Regions from separate parts of the Homo sapiens genome. Here region 1 is linked to region 2. Evidence: promoter capture Hi-C in human tissues and cell types (Jung and others, 2019). All regions are on one chromosome and are shown on one strand. Each heading gives the region's core, a stretch centred on a gene start or on the middle of the fragment in contact. The rest is flanking DNA. Distances are from core to core; before and after follow the strand shown.

Evidence for each region. The method cuts DNA at HindIII sites, captures the fragments that hold promoters and counts their contacts. A contact is called where the count stands out against the background at its distance.
Region 1: a contact is called between a fragment that was not itself captured here and the fragment with the promoter of RAB11FIP4 in region 2, in 3 of the 25 tissues and cell types used here (IMR-90 fibroblasts, bladder and liver).

Annotation. Positions count from the first base shown.
Region 1 is chr17:31,642,751-31,648,496 of GRCh38, reverse strand. No RefSeq gene overlaps it. Among named protein-coding and RNA genes, the nearest start is that of MIR365B, 70 kb to the right of the region's middle. The HindIII fragment of the contact is 6,637 bases long and covers 1-5,746 here.
Region 2 is chr17:31,386,992-31,392,931 of GRCh38, reverse strand. RAB11FIP4 (RAB11 family interacting protein 4) reads right to left here and starts at 1,257. Exons shown (of 15, transcript NM_032932.6): 1 at 921-1,257. The coding sequence starts at 1,079. RefSeq lists an enhancer at 1,453-2,042. The HindIII fragment of the contact is 17,895 bases long and covers 1-5,940 here.

The DNA of each region.
Region 1 (5,746 bases), core at 1,417-3,916, 250 kb before region 2:
TTCAAGCATCCATCTATTTCTATCAGAATGTCCATCTTTTTCCTACTAAACTTTTAGTATGTATTTTGTATTTTGAAGCCATCTCAAATTTACAGAAAAGTTGTGAATACAGGGTAAAGTCTTTTATTTCCTGAACCACTTGAGATCTGATGTACCATACCACCCTGCCTCCAAATACTGCACTATTAAAGAAAGGGTGCTGTGGCTCACACCTGTAATCCCAGCACTTTGGGAGGCCAAGGCAGGTGGATCACTTGAGGTCAGGAGTTTGAGACCAGCCTGGCCACACATGGTGAAACCCCGTCTCTACTAAAAATACAAAAATTAGCCGGGTGTGGTGGTGTGTGCCTGTAATCCCAGCTACTCAGGAGGCTGAGGCAGGAGAATCACTTGAATCCAGGAGGCAGAGGTTGCAGTAAGCCAAGATCACGCCACTGCACTCCAGCCTGGGCAAAAAGAGACTCCATCAAAAAAGCAAAAACAAAAAACTTCACTGTATGTTTCCTACATTGCCACAGTCCTACTGGCAAAATCAGGAAATGAACATTGATATTTGTGACAGATTGTAGTTTCCAAAGACAGCTGCAGCAGTATGTTAAACCTCACATATTCTTTTTCAACGTGACCTCAACACTCCTCCATAGAGAGATGAGGGTCTATATCTCCTTCCTCTTTAATTTGGGCAGGTTTTTGACTTGCTTGTAACCAACAGAAGGTGGCTTCAATGGCCAAGACAGGAAAGGTGATGCAACTTCTGCCTTGTTTGCTGGAATATTTGTTCTTGGAGCCCACAGCCTCCATGTAAGAAATCTGACTGAGGCCACCATGTTGTGAGGAAGCTGGATATATGGAGAGGACACCTGTAGGTGCCCCTGTCAGCAGTCTTGGTCTTGGAGTTTTCCCAACCCAGGCACCAGGCATGTGAGTTTGTCACACAGAAAGCCAATCACTGAGACACCAAGTATTGCCAAGGTAGAAGGCTTTAATCAGGTGCTGCGGCAGAGGAGATGGGAGCTCAGCCTCAAATCCATCTCCCTGACTGACTAAAACTAGAGGTTTATATAGCAGAGAAGAAATGTAACAATGTGTAAGAAAATAAGAAGTAGGGAGGGCCAAGGAGGCATCTGGTGAGTGAGCAAGACTTTAGATGGTTCCAGAGACCCTAGCCATAGAATTACCCCCAGGCTCAAGTTTTCTCAGATGAGGCCCCAGACCTCCTGGGGCAAAGACAAACTGTCCCTGTTGAGCCCTTTCTGAATTCCTGACCCACAAATGTCTGGTGCTAAATTTCACTAAGTGGTCTGTTATTCAGCTATGATAGCTTGAGTAATACACTGCTTCCATCAAATCCTCAGACTTTATTTAAGCTTGACCTCCTGTTCTCAAAATATTCTTTATAGTAGAAGGATCCACTTCAGGACCAACCTCAGTCTACTCCAGTCTGAACCAGTTCCTCAGTCTTGACAAAACTCATATTACTGAAACTTGCCCAGTAGGCCCATAGACAGTTGTTTTTGGATAAATATAGAAATTGACCCTTCTGCTGTTACAGCTTGAAATTTGTATCTGTTTTATCCAACTTCCTTCCTCAGGAAAGGACCTTTAGGCCTCTCAAGAAAAGGATCAAAGAACTGAAACTCACCTGATCACCACCAGATACCTCCTTGGCCCTTCCTAGTTCTTGTTTTCTTATACATTGTTACATTTCTTCCCTGCTGTATAAACCCCTAGTTTTAGTCAATCAGGGAGATAGATTTGAGGCTGAGCTCCCATCTCCTCTGCTGCAGCACCCGATAAAGCCTTCTTCCTTGGCAATACTTAGTGTCTCAGTGATTGCCTTTCTGTGCCACGAGGAGCAGGACCTAGACCAAATGCCCAGTGTTTTGGTAACATTACCTTGATGCTTTTGAAGATTATAGACCAGCTATTTTGCAGCATGTGCCTCACTTTGGGTTTGTGTGTTGTTCCTTCATGACGGGATTCAGTTATGTATCTTTGGCAGTGATACCACAAATGTGCTAACATGTTCTTATTGCATCCTATCAAGTGGCTTTCAATGTATTCATTTCTATTCATACAAATGCATAGTTTGTTATTTTATCTAATGAATTATAATCTGTTGCGCTCATTATTTATTTTGATGCTTAAATTGCCACAGATTTCGCTAGCAGGGGCCCTTGAAGGTGAATGCTACGCCCTGTTGACATATTTCTCATTCTTAGAGCACTTTCTTTCGCTTTCAGGCTCATCTTGTACTCTCCCCGCAAGTCTTAGAATCAGCCACTTTCCCAGGGAGATCTGGTTGCTTTTTTGGGGAATGGTATGTAGAAGCCAAAATCTGGGCATTACATGTGCTCATTGTTCTTAGGGCGTTACTGCTCCCAGTCCAGAGCTAGGAACTATGTATTTATATGTTATATACATATACACACTTATATTTATATATCAACATGTGTATTGAAAAATCATGAATTCACACTAATACCTCTCATTTCAATCCAGTGCCCCCGGACTTATTAACATTTTCTTTCTTCCATATTTGTAACTCCCTTCTCTGTCTTCACTGTTAGAGGGTAATCAGGTTCCTGTTATCTTTATTTGATCAAGTCTCCTGTTTGTAGTCACTCTTCCATCACCAGTGCTGCCTCCTTCCCCTTCACTCTTCTTGGGCTCTAAAATCTTGTGTCAAGGTGCCAGTGACCCCTCCCTACATAGACACTCTCTTCCCCTCACCTGTGTTTCAACATCACTCACTGGGCCACTGGGATGGGCGCTCTCCTCACCCCACCAGGCTCCAGCATCCCATGTTTAGCCACACCTCCCACTGCCTAGCATGCTCCTCACCCCACTCAGACACTGAGCTCCCATGCTGGGCTTCTCCCTGACCCATCCCTGCATGGAAATGCCCCTTGCTATGCTTGGGATCTGATACCATATGCTGGACTGCCCCCATGTGGATGCCCTCCCTGCCCTGCTAGCGTGTCTCCCCACCCCAACCCTCTCAAGCCTGACTTCTTGCACCAGGCACCCTTTGGGGGAACATCCTCCTTACTCTATGTGGGCTCCCACACCCATGCTGCACTGGCCTCCTCTACTGGCCCCCTCCTCGCCCTGCTCTGCCTCTAGCACCCCATGTGGGCCAGTTCTCTGTGGATGCCGTTTTCACCCTGTTTGGGATCTGACAGTCTGCTCTGGGCCACTGGGGCTCTCCAACACCCCCACCATTGAGGGGGTCTATATATAGAGAGACAGAGAGAGAGAGAGAGAGAAAGAAAGAGAGAGAGATCTTCTACTAGAGGATCCAAACTAATCTTTTAACCTATCTTTTTCCTCTGTCATTTGTTCTATTCAGGCCAGGATGAGATGATTCCCATCAATGCAGGGGAGGGAAATCTGCTTTACCAAGTCCACTAATTTGAATGCTAATCTTACCCAGAAAGACCCTCACAGACACACCCAGAAATGTTTAATCTGAGCATTCCATGGCCCTGTCAAGTTGACATGTAAAATTAACTGTCATGAATCATAATCCTTTGTCAATTACATATACTATATTGCATTTATTTTTCCTAGTTTGTTGTTTGCCTTTTAATTCTGTTAATTTGTTCATTTTTGGTTAAAAATTACTTATCTCATGTTCAATCTGTAAATGTTTATTATAGAAAAATGATGAAATACAGAGAAGCAAAAGAAAACTCAATCATAATCGAATTGTCCAAAGACAAGCTAATGTTAGTGTTATTTTCCGGATGCTTTCTTTTTCTTTTTTTTCTTAAGACAGAGTCTTCTCTGTTGCCTAGACTGGGGTGCAGTAGCATTATCTCAGCTCACTGCAACCTTCATCTCCCAGACTGAAGTGATTCTCTCACCTCAGCCTCCCAAGCAGCTGGGACTACAGGCATGTGCCACCATCCCCAGCTATTTTTTTTTTTTTGTATTTTTAGTAGAGACAGGGTTTGCCACGTTGCACAGGACTTAGCCTCCCAAAGTGCTGCAGTTATAGGGGTGAGCCACGACACTTGGCCTCAGATACTTTTTTATACTTTTTTTTTTGCATCGTTCATATTTTCTTTAGGGTTAAAAATATTAAGTATTTACAATATGCTGGTAGAGAGTGAAGAATGAAGATATATACACTAGTCTTCATCTATTATAGGAAACTTTTTAAAAAACCATCATAATAAAATGCAAAACAGCAGTAATTATGACAATCAGTAAAAATATGAAGAGATTTCTGGATTATTGGGCAGGACCTCTGTGCTATCTCCTGAATGCCTACAGACAACATTAATAATAATAATAATAATAATAATAATAATAATATGGTACTGATAATTGTCATTTCAACAATTGATCTACTGACAGGTTACCCTTGGAAAAAAAATCTTATAGTTTTTCTACACATCTTTAAACAACATTAGATCAATATTTTAGAACCTGTTCTTTTCACTTGACAATGTGTCACACACTTCATCATGACAGTGTTACTGGAAAGGGGTCCTGATCCAGACTCCAAGAGAGAGTTCTTGGACCTCGAGCAAGAAAGAATTTGGGGCAAGTCCATAGAGTAAAGTGAAAGCAAGTTTATTAAGAAAGTAAAGGAATACACTTTGGGAGGCTCAGGCAGGTGGGTTACCTGAGGTCGGGAGTTCAAGACCAGCCTGACCAACTGGAGAAACCCCATCTCTACTAAAAAAAACAAAATTAGCTGGGCATGGTGGTGCATGCCCATAATCCTGTGTCTGAAATTTATTACTTCTGGTGGGTTCCTGGTCTCGCTGACTTCAAGAATGAAGCCGCGGACCTTCGCGGTGAGTGTTACAACTCTTAAAGATGGTGTGTCCTGAGCTTGTTCCTTCAGATGTTCGGATGTGTCTGGAGTTTCTTCCTTCCGGCGGGTTTGTGATCTTGCTGACTTCAAGGATGAAGCCATGGACCTTCATGGTGAGTGTTACAGCTCTTAACGGTGGTGCAAACCCAAAAGTGAGCAGCAGCAAGATTTATTGTGAAGAGCGAAAGAACAAAGCTTCCACAGCATGGAAGGGGACCAGAGCAAGTTGCTGCTGCTGGCTCAGGTGGCCAGCTTTTATTCCTTTATTTGGCCCTGCCCACATCCTGCTGATTGGTCCATTTTACAGAGTGCTGATTGGTCCATTTTGCAGAGTACTGATTGGTGCGTTTACAATCCTTTAGCTAGACACAGAGCGCTGATTGGTGTGTTTTTACAGAGTGCTGATTGGTGCATTTACAATCCTTTAGCTAGACACAGAGCACTGATTTGTGCATTTACAATCCTTTAGACAGAAAAGTTCTCCAAGTCCCCACTTGACCCAGGAAGTCCAGCTGGCTTCACCTCTCAATCCCAGGTACTCGGAAGGCTGAGGCAGGAGAATCGCTTGAACCTGGGAGGTGGTGGTTGTGGTGAGTTGAGATGGTGCCATTATACTCCAGCCTGGGCAACAAGAGCAAAACTGCATCTCAAAAAAAAAAAAAAAAGAAAGAAAGGAAAGGAATAAAAGAATGGCTACTCCATATGCAGAGCAACCCCAAGAGCTGCTGGCTGTCCACTTTTATGGTCATTTCCTGATTATATGCAAAACAAGGGGTGGATTATTCATGAGTATTCCAGGAAAGGGGTGAGCAATTCCTGGAACTGAGGGTTCCTCCCCTTTTTAGACCATATAGGACAACTTCCTGACATTGCCACGGCATTTGTAAACTATGTCACTGGTGGGAGTGTCTTTTA
Region 2 (5,940 bases), core at 8-2,507:
CATGCAGGGCCTGAGGCCTTAGATGGCCTTGGAAACCCACTTCTCAGGGCTTTTGGCTCCAGGGGAAACCCCTGACCATTTCAGCCAGGTGGGTGTCTTGTCCTCCCCTTGAGACACAGTCCCCAGTCCCCATGCCGGTGGCACCAGAGGACACTGGTGTAGTGTGCGTTTAGTGATATGACTCCGTCCACCCTACTGGCGGCACCGACCCTCCGCTTCCAGCCCTGTTAACAATCTACGTAAGTCCTGCTTTCCCCAAATAGATGCGGCCCCGCCACATGAAAGCCCTCTGCTCAGCCACCACTCCCCGAGCCTGGCTTTGCCTGGCCTGCTGCAACCAACACAGCCAGCTGCCAGCCTGGCTGCCCAGCAGAGCCTGAATGAGAGGTCACCCGACACTGGCCCGGGAGTACACGGTGGCCCCAGCAGACACCTCCTTCCGTGTCTGGGCAGGGTGTGTGCAGCCGAGGAGCCAAGGCTGCAGAGCACCCCTACCGGTCCCTTTCACCCCCTGGCCCGGCCCAGCAGGACGTACACAGACCCTTGCATCTTGGTCTCCGCAGCGCCGGGTGGGGTGGGGAGCCTAGGGCCGGATTCTGGCAGCTCTCTCCCCCAGACAAGGGTGGATGTGCAGACCGCTCAGAAGGACCTGCATGGCCGAGGAAGGAAGGTGGGCGCAGAAGCCACCCTAGGCGTGACGCGTGACGCTCGGGGCACGGGCGCCGGGGGGCGGAAAGCGAGGGCCCGGCTGGGCCAGGGATACCCGGGGGGGGCCGAGGTCCTGGGCTCCGGCGGAGGGAGGGGATTGGGAGGGAGGCCACCGCCTCGGGCCACGCGGGTGACCCGGCGGGGGAGCTGGGGGAGGGGCGGCGGGGCTGGGCTGGGGTCCCCGGGCCGGGACTGGGGTCGGGCCAGCTTACCTCCTCGCCCTGGCCGAAGCGCAGTCCGAGCGCCGCGACGCGCTCCACGCGCAGGAAGCCGTCGGGGTCGCGGCCGCACACCTCGAACACCTCGCGCAGGCGGCGCACGGAGCGCAGCAGAGCCGCGGGGGCGCCCGACCAGCCCGCGCCGCCCGCCATCCGGGCCGGCCCGCAGCTCAGCCCGGACCCCTCGCCCGCCGCGCCCGCCGCCTGCCCGCCGCCGCCATCGCCGCGCGCCCTCCGGGGCCGCCCGTCTGGGTCTGCGCCGCGCAGCCTCCGCCCGGTGGCGGCCGCGGCCGATCCGTGTCAGCAGCGGCGCCGCAGCCCCAGCCGCTCCGGAGGGGAAGGGAGGGGAGGGGAGGGAAGGAGAAGAGTGGGGAGGGGAAGGAGGAGGGGCAATAGGGGGCGGGGAGGGGAGGGGCGGGGGCCGCGGCGAAAATGGGAGGGAGAGGGGGAGGCGGCGGGGGCGGCGGCGGCGGGGACGCTGCAGACAAAAGGAGCCCGCGTCCTCCCGAGTGGGGCGGCCCACGCGGGGCCGGCAGGCGCAGCGAGCTGCCAACGGCCGCGTCCTCCGCGACCTCAGTTTCCCTCCGCGTCCCCAGTTTCCCTCCGCGTCCCCGAGCCCACCCCTTCCTCTGGACACCCGGAGCCACCCAAAGGCCCTGCCCTGCCGGAGGATTCCGCGGGGTCGCGCCCCTTTCCGCTATCCGTGCCCGCTGCCGCGCCTGGCGTCTCCCGAGCGCTCAGGATGTCCTGGGGGCCTCCTGCATTGGCGCGTTCCGTGACTGCATTCATCCCGGAGGAAGCTGAGGCCCAGAGAGGTCGGACTCACTCTAGGCCACACAGCTGGCAAGAGGCAGGGCCGGGATTCGCTGCCATCTCTGGAGGGCTCTGGACTCCGTTCTTCACCTCCGCCCTGCGGTCTCCCGGCGCTCTCCTGCAAGACAGCACTTGTGGGGCCATCGGGCGGGGGAGGGCACAGAGAGGAGGAGCAGGCAACTGAACCCCAGCCTGGACCCGGGACCCTGCGACGGGGAGATGAGGAGAAAACCAGGATGAGGCCGGAGGGAGGAAAAGCGAGGCGCTTCCAGAGGCCTGCCTGTTCAGGGCCCAAGGCTGCTCCACGCCTGGAAGAGGCTTCCTCCCTTTCGCCGGGTTCCCACCATCACACCTCCCTGGCAGCCCGCATGCCCCAAGCTCAGAGAATCCAGGACAGAATCTCTGTCCCGCTGGCCGCAGGCTCTAGGTCAGGACCCTGGCCTCCTCCCATTAGTGCTCAGCGGAGCCTCCACCCCAGCTTGTGCTAACTTCCCAGCCCAGCCTCGGGGCCCTGCAGGACCCGGCCGGGCTCTTCTCTCCACCTTCTTGCTCGGCACATCAGGTCTTTGTGGCAACGACTGGCCCCAACCCAAAAAAAGGCCTTGGCTGAGTCTACTCCCACCTATGCTGTCATGCTCAGCACAGAGGTTTCCTCCTCCGGGAAGGCTTCTCTGATGGCACGCCATCTTATCTTCTATTCTGAGTTCTAAGCCCTTCTTCCAGGTGCCCAGTTAATTCTTAATTCTCTAGTGGGATGCCCATTTCCCCTACCATGCTGGGAAGCCCTCCAGGGCAAGATATGTCTTAATTACCTTCAAGTCCCTGATCTCCAGGCAAGAGTGGGCCCAGAGGAAGCCCCACCCAGAGGGGATGGGCCCGCCCATTATGTGAGGAGCCGGGAGCAACGTAGTGGCGCAGACAGGGAGTACGGGGTGAACTGCATGGCCTCCCCTAGCTGGGCCTCGGTTTGTACCTCTGTGGTCTTCCTGCTCAACCCTGAATATATCCTGCGCAGGGACTGCCATTTGCCTTCTGACAGTGGGCGGGGACCTCTTCTTTCCAGCCCCGGCTCCTGGGATGAACCTGGCTTTTAGCTACTCTCCTTTGACCCTTCAGTTCGTCTGAGAGCCACGAAAGGCAACACCTCTTGGGAAGAGAGACCTGTGGTTCTGAGGATTGAGGAGTCCGAAATGTGAGAAAGCGGGAAAGGGGAGGCCGTGGGAGTGGAGTAGGGGTATTCGGCTGAGTAGGAGCGTCTCTGCTAGCTGGATGCCGCTCAGCAGGATACTAGCATATTTTAGCCGGTTTCCTCGCCTGTACCGTGAGGATAATAGTACCTTCCTTTTAGGGCAACTGAAGATGAGAGCGAATCTAAGCAATGCTGCTTTCCCCCGACCTACCCTGCAAAATGGAGGTGGAAGTGGAGAATAAGGACAAGCAGCTGGCTGGGAGAGACTGGCTGCTGGAGATCCAGCCAGCCCCCTGGCAAGGAGGTAGGGAGTGGAAGCTGGGGGCTGCTGCCTGCCCCTGGGACCCCGATATTAGTTCGTCCAAGGTCAGCTCGTGCCATTTTCTCTCACCCAAGGGGCTCAGCACAGAAAGGAGATGGCCAGGAGCTGGGGCTGCCCCCTGGTGGGGGCTGCAGAAATGGCTCTCCGCGCTCAGCCTGGCATTGAATGCCCCCTAACTGGGGACAGGGGAGCTGGAAGACTCACCCACTTCAGCTGGCAGAGGCGGGGACCTCAGACCTGAGCATGAACAAATCCCAAGTGAACCAAGACAGAATCCCGCAACCAGATTAGCCAGTTCTTGTCAAAGACAGGATCATCACAAATTCAAAAATCCCCCAGGAGAGCTTTCCCTGACCGGACTCTCCTTGCCCAGGTCTCTGCAGTTTTGTCTCTGGTGGGCGATGGTTTGAAGGACACCTGCCTCCCCCACCAGTGGCACTGGGTCTCTTGCTCACCGCTGTGCTGCTGGGGCCAGCAAAGCACGTCACAGGCATTCTTTCTGGGGTTGTCACGTTTTTGTTGAGCACCTACGTTGTGTTGGGTATGCTAGGGAGACAGTGAAAGGGGTGCAGCCACTTGCTGAACTTGATGGGGGCAGTCATGGCCCAGTGTGATCTACACTGAGGTGCCAGGCTCTAGGAGCCCAAGAGGGCCTGCAGAAATGGCTGAGTGCCTACCCAAAGGTCCCTCAGAGATGGTGCAATTTATGGAGTCCTTGGGTCCTTGGAAGTGGACCTGGGACCACTAGGGCTCCCAAAACCCTGATCCAAGAGCTCAGAGTGCAGCCCCGAGCAGAAGCAGCAAGAGAATACCCATGTCAGGGCCGGCTGCAGGGTGAAGGGGGTTGCTCCAGGAAAGCAAGAGGTCCCCATGGATAGGGCGGGAAGGCGCGGAGCCTCCTTTCTGTCCTCCGCTTCCTCCAGGTGACCTCTGATTCTCCAGGGGATTTCCAACAGCTGCAGCAGCCTGGGCAGGCTGGAAATATACTGGGAAATATACATGGAAGGGACAGTTGGGACTCCGGCCCCTTCTCTAGGAAGAAACAAGTTTGATCAGGTCCCTCCCCTGCTGAAAACTCAATGGCCACCATTGCCTGAGCTGGCATTGTGCAGTGTCTTCATACTCTCCTGCCTCTCCTTAACCCTAGTCTGGGAGCATCCAGGCTCCCTCCTGCCTCCCTTTGCTTAGTGGGTGGGAGGTCTCAATCCTACCCCCACCCAATTCCACTTTCTCTAATTCCTGTCCTTGTGTTGTGGAAGTGGCACTTCCTACCGGAAGCCTTTCATGACCACCCCACTCCTTGCCCACCTTGACCACCTCTCCCATGTGCTCCTGCAGAGAAGTGAAAAGTACAGACTGCAGCCCACTTACAGGTATGGATAAGGCTGTGGTGAGAGTCAGTAAGTTAATACATACATTGTAAGTGTCAGAACAGTGCTGCTGGTTAGTGACAGCTATTGTCCTTGTGACTATCCTTACCATCTTACTCCTATTGTCTATCACCGGATTATCTGGGAAACTGTATGAAAGGTCACAGGAGTGACCATGAGGTCCCTGGGAGCAGGGACTGTGTCTATTTCTCTCCTGATTTCTGTAGCTCCTAAATAATGCCCATACACACATAGTTAGGGTCTGTGTAGGAATAAATTAAGGAATGGACAAATATGGCATGGTAGGCTGAAAAATGCCCCCTTAAATGATATCTATATTCCAATCCCTGTACATCAGTGGTCCCCAACCTTTTTTGGCACCAGGGACTGGTTTCATACAAGTCGGGGGAAGAGGGTCTTGGGATGAAACTGTTCCAACTTAGATCATCAGGCTTCAGATTCTCATAAGGGGTGCGCAACCTAGATCCCCCTCCTGCGCCATTCACAATAGGGTTCCCGCTTCTATGAGAATCTAATGCCACTGATCTGACGGAAGGTGGAGCTCAGGCGGTAATGCCCACTCACCCGGCGCTCACCTCCTGCTGTGGTTCCTAACAGGCCATGAACTGGTAATGGTCTGCAGTCTGGGCGTTGGGACCCCTGCTGTAAATGTTACCTCATTAGAAAAAGGGTCTTTGCAGATGTAATTAAGGATCTGGAGGCTGGGCGTGGTGGCTCACGCCTGTAATCCTAGCACTTTGGGAGGCTGAGGCAGGCAGATTGCTTCAGTCCAGTAATTCGAGACCAGCCTAGGCAATGTGATGAAATCCTGTCTCTACTAAAAAATACAAAAATTAGTTGGGCATCGTGGCATGTATCTGTAGTCTCAACTACTCAGGAGGCTGAGGCAGGAGGATGGCTTGAGCCAAGGAGGTGGAGGTTGCCGTGAGCCCAGATCATGCCACTACAGTCCAGCCTGGGTGACAAGAGTGAGACCCTGCCTCCAAAAAAAAAAAAAACAAAAAAAAAACTAACAACAAAAAAAACAACAGGATCTGGAGACAGGGGGGTTATTCTGGGTTAGCTAGGTGGACCCTTAATGCAATCACACATATCTATAGGATGGATCAGAGGCAGATTTGACACATAAAGAGAGGGTAATGTGACCACAGAGGCAGAGATTGGAGTGGTGCAGCCATAAGCCAAGGAGCAACAGCAGCCATCAGAAGAGGCAAGGAGCAGAATCCCTCCCAGAGCCTCTGAAGGGCCCACAGCCCTGCTGATGCCTGGATTTTGGCCTTCTGGCCTCCAGAACTGTTA